Regions from separate parts of the Homo sapiens genome. Here region 1 is linked to region 2. Evidence: promoter capture Hi-C in 16 types of primary human blood cells and fetal thymus (Javierre and others, 2016). All regions are on one chromosome and are shown on one strand. The core of a region is centred on a gene start or on the middle of the fragment in contact, and the rest is flanking DNA. Distances in the headings are between cores, read along the strand shown. Region 1 overlaps SIK3 (SIK family kinase 3). Region 2 holds the start of APOA4 (apolipoprotein A4).

Region 1 (4,108 bases), core at 343-2,842, 130 kb after region 2:
AATTCTCATCATCTTCTGAATTAACATTTTGTGTAGTTGTTGCTAAGAATGGCATCAAATTTTAAAGAACAAATTAAAAAGACCTACCTGGGTAAGGAAAACGTACTAGTAAATGGCCAGGGGAAACTTGAGGATACTAAGTGCTGAGCGCGTAAACAGAAGGGTAGGAAAGATAGCAGGATTAACATAGAAACAAAAAAAGTCACAGATGTTCACCCACCCACATTTCTTCAAAGGGAGCCATACATACAATATTCTGGGTTCTTTGCAGCTATCTGCTATACACTAATGATCCTACCTGGTAGAGCCTGATGATATGGGGGTGGCAAAGCATCTTCATAATTTGAACTTCCCGGAAAATCTTCTTCAAGTTTTCTTCATCCAGCTGGGTCTTATCTATGATCTTGATAGCAACCTGACAACAGAGGGAAAAAAATTACTCTGATGCATTATTAAAAGCAGTTTACTAAGAAAAATTAGGTTCACTTTAAAACATTACGTTCCATAAAATATAAGCTGCCAGTATTCTGTTTACAGAATGTCAATGAGGAAAATTAATTTACTCTTTTTAAAAAGATAGGAAATGGATTCCTAGCAAGTTGGTCTCAAAGGAACAGACTCCAAAAGCTAATGGGTCTTCTGCCATTTCTTCAATTGCTTATACGGTAAAATCCTATGAAAAAATACTTTATTACTCCATAGATGTCGTTACGGTCTGGGTCAAATCATGTTTCAGTGCAGAGTGGTATACAGGGTCTCTCATTAAGACAAGAAGCTTTAAATAAAATAAAAAATTTTTAAAAAGGCAAGAAGCTTGTATCATAAATACATGGTGTCTTACTAAGGTTCTATGAGAACTTTCACAGGGGCTTTACACATCTCACCAGATGCTTGTAGAACTCAATAATAATAATAATAGTAGCAGTGATGGTGGTGGCAGCAGCAGTAGCAGCATCTACCATATACGAAATGTTTACTATGGGCCAGGCATAACTCTTAGTGGTTTGGAAGTACTAACTCATTTAAACCTCCTAACACCCACCTTATCATTAACCTTGCTTTAGAAATACAGAAACTGAGGCACACAGAGATTAAGTAATTAACCCAAGATTAAGTAATTTACACCTAGTATGTGGCAGGTGCAGGATTGAAGCCTAGGTAGCTTGGCTTTAGAATCAAATTCTTAATAAGAATGTTATAAGAATCTGAAGATCTTTCTTTAGCATACATGCACTGCATCATAAAACATATCTTTCCAATGTGCCCCCTTTTAATAAGATACTCATCAGCAAATACATTTTAATGAAGAATGAACGATGAAGGACTTTTAAAAATTTACTAAATCTAAACTTCCTCAGTGAAATACTTAAAATATTTGTGTTGCTCCAAAATATGTCTATATCTCAGTTTCAATTATGTAATCAGTATGGAAGCAATACTGGTTAGATGAAGAACCTAGACTAGTCAAACTCTAGTCCTCTCCAAATCTTAACATTCTAAGATTCTATGCACCAGAGAGGTAAAGGGAACATATACAGTACTTACTGAGGAAAAAATCAGGAAAACAAAATTACAAAAGTAAAAATGTTTAGCTCAGAGAAATAAAGACTGTTTGGAGCCATACGTGGCAGATTATTCAGATGTATAAATGGCTGGCATAAAAGTAACTTTATCTGAAGCTGTTTCAGGTGTTAAAATGAGGACCCACGGGAGAAAGGCACAGGGAGATAAATTTCAGCTGTACTCAAAGAGCATTCAAGCCATGCCTAACGAGGGAGTGTGATGAAAGGAGCTGGGTGTGGCTGGAGCTACAAGGATTAATCAGACACAGCCTAAACTTCAAGGAGATCACAGTCTAAAAAGGAAAAAAGATGTGTGGAACTGAAAACAATGCAGCATTGGAAGTACAAGCAATGGAGCTATGTACCAGGTATAACAACAGACAGAGGATGGTGAATGACCTTCACCTACAGGAGAAGAGGTAGAAAAAGTCTGGGAAAGACTTGACAAAGAAAGCAGAATTTCACTACAGAGAGAACTGGGATAGGCAGAGAAGAAGGTAGAGAATTTAATGAGGATCTCACCAGCTGCTTGGTTTCCTGTAAGAAGTCTTGGATAATATAACCCTTGACCACCTGCATTTCTACTTCTCCTCATTACTGCACCAGATCACATACAAGACCTTAACTCCACAACTGGTCTAGCATCTGCTCCTGCTTCTCTCAGGACAGCTCCCAAAACAACAACAAAAAAAATCATGGTACACAATGTCTCTTCCTAGAACAAATAGCTTGGTCTTAATAGTCATTATTAATAAAATCTTACATGTGAATGGCACCTTGTAATGTACAGAATGCTTTCATAAATATAACAAGCTTAGAAACTTGCAGATATATCCCCATAGCAGAGCTGCCAAACAGCTGTAATCCCAGCACTTTCGGAGGCCAAGGAGGGCAGACTGATTGAGTCCAGGAGTTCAAGACCAGCATGGGCAATATGGTGAAACCCCATCTCTACTAAAAAACTTTTTAAAAATTAGCCGAGCATGGTAGCATGTGTCTGTAGTCCCAGCTACTCAGGAGGCTGAGGTGGAAGGACAGTTTGATCCCGGGAGCTGAAGTTGCAGTGAGCTATGATCGTGCCAGCAACAGAATGAGACCCTGTCTCAAAAGAAAAAAAAAGAACTTCCAAACAAGTGTGTTGGAAATGGGTTACAAGCAATAATGGATCACCTCCAATCTCAACTTTCTGTGCATGCCATGATGTGCAAAAGGTGGGAAGAACTGCTAGGATTTATTTACCTTAATAACAGAGGGCATCAACTGTCTAAGGCCTGTGCCTGAAATCTTCCACCTCTGCCCACCCCCTACTAATTGATGGCATGTACAATGTAACTGGGGAAAAGCGGGTGACCTTCAGGTTAACTTATGAAATTTGTGCATTCTTTCACCTCCAAGAGATCACAGGGAGTCATATAGTGGGGCCTCCCTGATTCACAAGGCACTCACTCTAAATTTCATTTGCATTCTGAAGCAATAGGATCTTCATAATGGTAAACAGAGATTGTGTGGCTCCCAGTCAGCCACACAATCACGTGGGTAGATAACAATAGAGTGAATTAAATGCATTTCTGACTTACCATATTTTCAACTTATAATGGGTTTATTGGGACGTAACCCATCATAAGTCAAGAAATATCTGTACTAGCAATAATGCCTTTTGTTGGCTATAATTAACAATAATTTATTACATATTTCAAAATGGCTGAAGGAGATTTGAAATGTCACCAACAGAAAGACATGATAAATGTTTGGGGTAATGGATATCCTAATTACCCTGATTTGATCATTACATGTTGTATCCATGCAGCAAAATATCAAATGTACCCCATAAATATGTACTATAATAAATAAATACATACATACATGAATTTTACAAACAAATGTACTTCATCTTTTCAGGAAAAATTGCATTGAATATAATCTGTTCTTAGAAGGCACGTACAAAGAAGTTTTAATAGATTAAAACATCAAACTCCTGTCTACTCTTCAGTGAGAGTTCAGATTCCAGAAGACATTGAAAAGTGAAGCTTTGGGCCAGGCACGGTGGTTCACGCCTGTAATTCCAGCACTTTGGGAGTTAAAGGCAGGCGGATGGCTTGAGGCGAGGAGTTCAAGACCAGCCTGGGCAACAAAGTGAGACCTCATCTCTACAAAAAATAAAAAAATTAGCCAGGTGTGGTAGTGTGTGCCTGTAGTCCCAGTTACTCAGGAAGCTGAGACAGAAGGATTGCATGAGCCTAGCAAGGGTGAAGTGAGCCGTGATCACGCCACTGCATTGCAATCTGTGCAACAGAATGAGACACTTTCTCCAAAACAAAAAAACAAAACAAAACAAAAAAACCAAAGTGAAGCTTTATTTAGCAGTTGAATATAGTACTGAAAGCAAGGACTCTGAAGACAAGCTACTTAGATTCAAAATCTTGGAACTATCCCTTAATATATAACCTAGAACAGGTTACTTAATTTTCCAATGGCTCCCTATCTGTAAAATGTGGGCAACAATGGAACCTACTTTAAAGTGATTTTGGGGATTAACAAAGCTAATA
Region 2 (4,169 bases), core at 1-2,500:
CTAAGTTACGATGCTGAATTTCTATCTCAGGATCTCCCACATAGTTTGTCTCAGAATCTACCCACCATGTCACCTCCAGCAGTTTGCTTTCCCCTCCTTGTCTGCAGAGGGTGGGACTTTGAGGTCCTTCCCAGAGGGAGTGTTCTGGGCCATAGGATCACATTGTGTAACACAATGTTGTCTTCTTGACCTCTGCTGGGGTCTTCCAGTGGCACAAGGTGCTGCTTTCCTTGCCTGTGCCCAGGGGCCTCCCAAATATTCCCACCTCCCTCCCCTTGATTCCACTGGGGCCTGTCTTTCTGAAACGTATTAGAAATCAGCTCACGTGACATTTTCCTCCCTCCCTCTCTTCCATGAGCCTGAATGATAGGATGTGGCCATTTGTCAAACTCTAGAACGTCAAAGCAAAAGGACATGGCAGGGATTATTCGGTCCAAACTTCCGGTTTACATATGTGGATCCTAGGTTCAGAGGCCCGGCCAGTTAGTGGCAGGGCAGTGGGTATCCTAAGCTCAGGGCTCCTGTCTCTAAGCTCAACCCTTGCCAGTACATTGCATGGCCTTTAAGAATTCCCCGTCACCACCGCACACTGTAGTCCCTCTTACTTGAGTTGCTGGGTGAGTTCAGATTTCTGGAGATGTTCCACGGCCTCCTTGGCATTGTTGCTCAGCTGGCTGAAGTAGTCCCACATCACCGTGGCCACCTGGTCAGCACTGACCTCAGCCCTGGCTCCTGGGTGGTAACAGAGAGCAATTCATGAGGCCCCGTCTCCTGTGTGGCCCCTCTGCTCCAGCTCTGAGCTGCAGACTGGATGATGGTGGGGGTGCCTCAACCTGCCATTTTCCCTGTCTGAGCTTAGCTTTTTGGAAGCCACAGGGATATGTGAAACTGGTATAGCACCAATGCCAATGGGCCCACCACTGGGACTGGGCCAGCTCTCCTGTGAGCCACTTGGCAGCCAGGCAGACCTCATGTCCAGCTGGGGGCTGATGGGCACTCAGAAGTGTCCTTTTGCTTTGGCTCAGCCTCCATCCTGCACTACTCAGAGCAGCAGCCCAGGAGTGCCATCCAAAGACAGCTTCTACTCACCGGCGACAGCCACCAGGGCCAGGGTCAGGACCACGGCCTTCAGGAACATCCTGAGCTGCTTGCTGGGCTGGAGGAGTTTCTTGCCACACTGGATCCTCCCTACAATCAGGGGAGCTGACAGAGAGGTCCTCAGGAGAGCTCACCTGCGCTGCAGTGGGAACTGACTGAAGCTCAGAGCCAGCCAGACATTTAAACTCTCTCCCTATCGCCACCCCCCTGGCTGCCCTCCCCTCCTCCTTCCTCAGTGTGACTCCACGCTGGAAGGTGACACATTCCCAAGAGGCCTCTTGGACTTTTGTGACCCTGAGACTACGTGGAAGCTGACAGCAGATCAGGGCTCAGGCGATAGTTAGAAGTGGTGGCTGTTCCGTGCGTGGGCACCCCCACCCCCACCCCACCAACCTCAGCATGGAAGGGAGGAGGGGAACGGAAAACAGTAGGAGAAACACCTCAGGGAGCCCATGAGCCCGGGACTGATGCCTCGAGGCCCTGCTGGCGGCTCTGGGTTTGTGCCGGGCTCATGGGGGGCAAAGTCCACATCTCCTCTGTCTACCCCAGTGAAGACAGGTCCCCCCAGTCTCCACATCCGCCACTAATGCTGACTCCATCTCAGAGCACCAGACACTGGAGTGGGACCATCCAGGACTGCAGACAGCATAGTGAGCTAAAATCTAGGTCTCTTGTCAAGGTACACCCAAGAGGAGGGGGCCCTGGAGAGCCTTTGGGCAGATGGGTGTGGGAGACAGGGCCTTGTCCTGAAAGGGTTAATTGTAGAGTGCTTCATGTCCCACTCCCATGCTGTGCCTCCTTGGTCTAGTTATTCAAAGCCCTGAGCTTCAGTTTCTCCTCTGAACAATGGGATGGTTCAGTACATTAAAGAAGACATTGCTTGCGAAGTGGGTAGTACGGTCATCTCTCAGTCTCCATGGGAAATTGATTCCAGGACCCTCTGCAGATACCAAAATCCATGGATGTTCAAGTCCTTGATATAAAATGGCATAGTATTTGCATATAACCTAAGCACAGCCTCCCACATACTTTAAATCTCTAGATTACTTATAATACCTAATACGACGGAAATGCTGTGTGAATGGTTGTTATACTGTATTGTTTAGGAGGTAATCACCAAAAAAGTCTGTATATGTTTAGTACAGGTGCAATTTTTTTTTTTTTTGAGATGGAGTCTTACTCTGTCACCCAGGCTGGAGTGCAGTGGCACGATCTTAGCTCACTGCAATCTCTGCCCCCCAGGTTCAAGTGATTCTCCTGCCTCAGCCTCCTGAGTAGCTGGGATTACAGGCACCCACCACCACGCCCAGCTAATTTGTGTATTTACAGCAGAGACGGGGTTTCACCATGTTGCTCAGGCTGGTCTCCAACTCCTGGCCTCAAGCAATCCTCCCATGTGGGCCTCCCAAAGTGCTGGGCTTATAGGCGTGAGCCACTGCGCCCTGCCCAGATGCAATTTTTTTAAAACATTGTTTTTAATGGAGATGGGGTGTCGCTATGTTGCTCAGGCTGGTCTCCAACTCCTGGCCTTAAGTGATCCTCCAATCTCTGCCTCCTAAAATGCTGGGCTTACAGGCATGAGCCACTGCACCCGGCCCACAGATGCAATTTAAAAAAAAAAATATATATATATATATATATATATTTTTTTTTTTTTTTTTTTTTTTGAGATGGAGTCTTGCTCTGTCACCCAGGCTGGAGTGCAGTGGCACGATCTCGGCTCACTGCAAGCTCTGCCTCCCGGGTTCACGCCATTCTCCTGCCTCAGCCTCCCAAGTAGCTGGGACCATAGGCGCCCGCCACCACGCCCGGCTAATTTTTTTTTTTTTTTTTGTATTTTTAGTAGAGATGGGGTTTCGCCGTGTTAGCCAGGATGGTCTCGATCTCCTGACCTCGTGATCCGCCCGCCTCAACCTCCCAAAGTGCTGAGATTACAGGCGTGAGCCACCACGCCCGGCCTAAAAAATTATTTTCAATCCAAGGTTGGTTGAATCCATGGACACAGAAACCAAGGATACAGAGGGCTGCCTATAGAGCTCCTGGCACAGAGTAAGCTCTGAAAAATAGTTGCTGTTATTATAATAATCATACTGTATAATAATCATACTGTGTTCCTGATTTGGAGCAAAGCAGGGAGGGTAGCAGAGTGCTCCCTCCTCTAGTGAGAGTGGCAGAGTGAGACTCAGCCCTCTGAGGGGCGCCAGGTGGGCCAGAGGCAGGGTGATGGGTGGGACCAGCCTGAGGCCTGACTCCTGCCCTTCTTGCCCCCCAGCCACACTCCCTGGGCAGGAGCAGCTGGCTTGAGCAGAATCTTGGGACCTGAGGCTCTCAGGGGACCTCCCATTGGGGGATGGAGGGCAATGGTGGTGGTGCCCAGGAGGTCTTCTACTTAGATGTCTATTGGATCTCTAAATGAGGCTGCATGCATAATCACACACAAACATCCACTGAGAAGGTGACACACCACGTCAGCATGGGTCCCTCTGCCGGACCACACCACTCCTAGTGACTATGAGGTGACATCCAGGCACGTTGCACTATTGGCTCCTGTCGGTGAGTGCAGTGCCTGACAACAGTGAGCTACATTTATTTGTAAAAATGAACGCCATCAGAGTAGACCACAATTGTACTAACTCTAATTTGCTTTGTGTTCATTTTTTCAGTTTCCAGAAGTGGCTTAATGTTTCCTAGGGTCAAAGGCAGTCAAATGACCTCCTGACTCTGGCACCCCTTCTGCTGGGTCCCCACTGCCCTGTAGTGGTCCCCACGCTACCATGCTGCCTCCTTTTTGATGCAGCCTGTGCCATCTCTCCGTGATTGTTGGGGTCAGATGCTGGAGTCCACTCCCTGGCTTGGCATCCAGGCTCCAACACGTACTGCCTGTGTGTCCTTGGGCAAGTCTCATAACCTCTCTGAGCCTCAGTTACCTTGGTGAGACATAACCATTGTACCTGCCTCCTAGGCTGTGAGGATTCACTGAGATGATCTTATAGTGCTTGCAACAATGTCTGGCACATAGGAAAAGTGATCACTAAATGTTAGCCACGTCTTACTCCTGCAAGGCTCACCTC

Evidence for each region. Contacts are between HindIII fragments. The CHiCAGO score rates a contact against its expected background, and 5 or more counts as called.
Region 1: a contact is called between a fragment that was not itself captured here and the fragment with the promoter of APOA4 in region 2, in 1 of 17 cell types (activated CD4 T cells). The highest score is 5.0, in activated CD4 T cells.

What each region holds. Positions count from the first base shown.
Region 1 is chr11:116,956,650-116,960,757 of GRCh38, forward strand. SIK3 (SIK family kinase 3) reads right to left here. Exons shown (of 25, transcript NM_001366686.3): 2 at 299-415. Among named protein-coding and RNA genes, the nearest start is that of APOA1, 120 kb to the left of the region's middle. The HindIII fragment of the contact is 1,562 bases long and covers 812-2,373 here.
Region 2 is chr11:116,822,054-116,826,222 of GRCh38, forward strand. APOA4 (apolipoprotein A4) reads right to left here and starts at 1,251. Exons shown (of 3, transcript NM_000482.4): 1 at 1,090-1,251; 2 at 606-732. The coding sequence starts at 1,138. RefSeq lists enhancers at 3,239-3,605, 3,460-3,754. The HindIII fragment of the contact is 18,172 bases long and covers 1-4,169 here.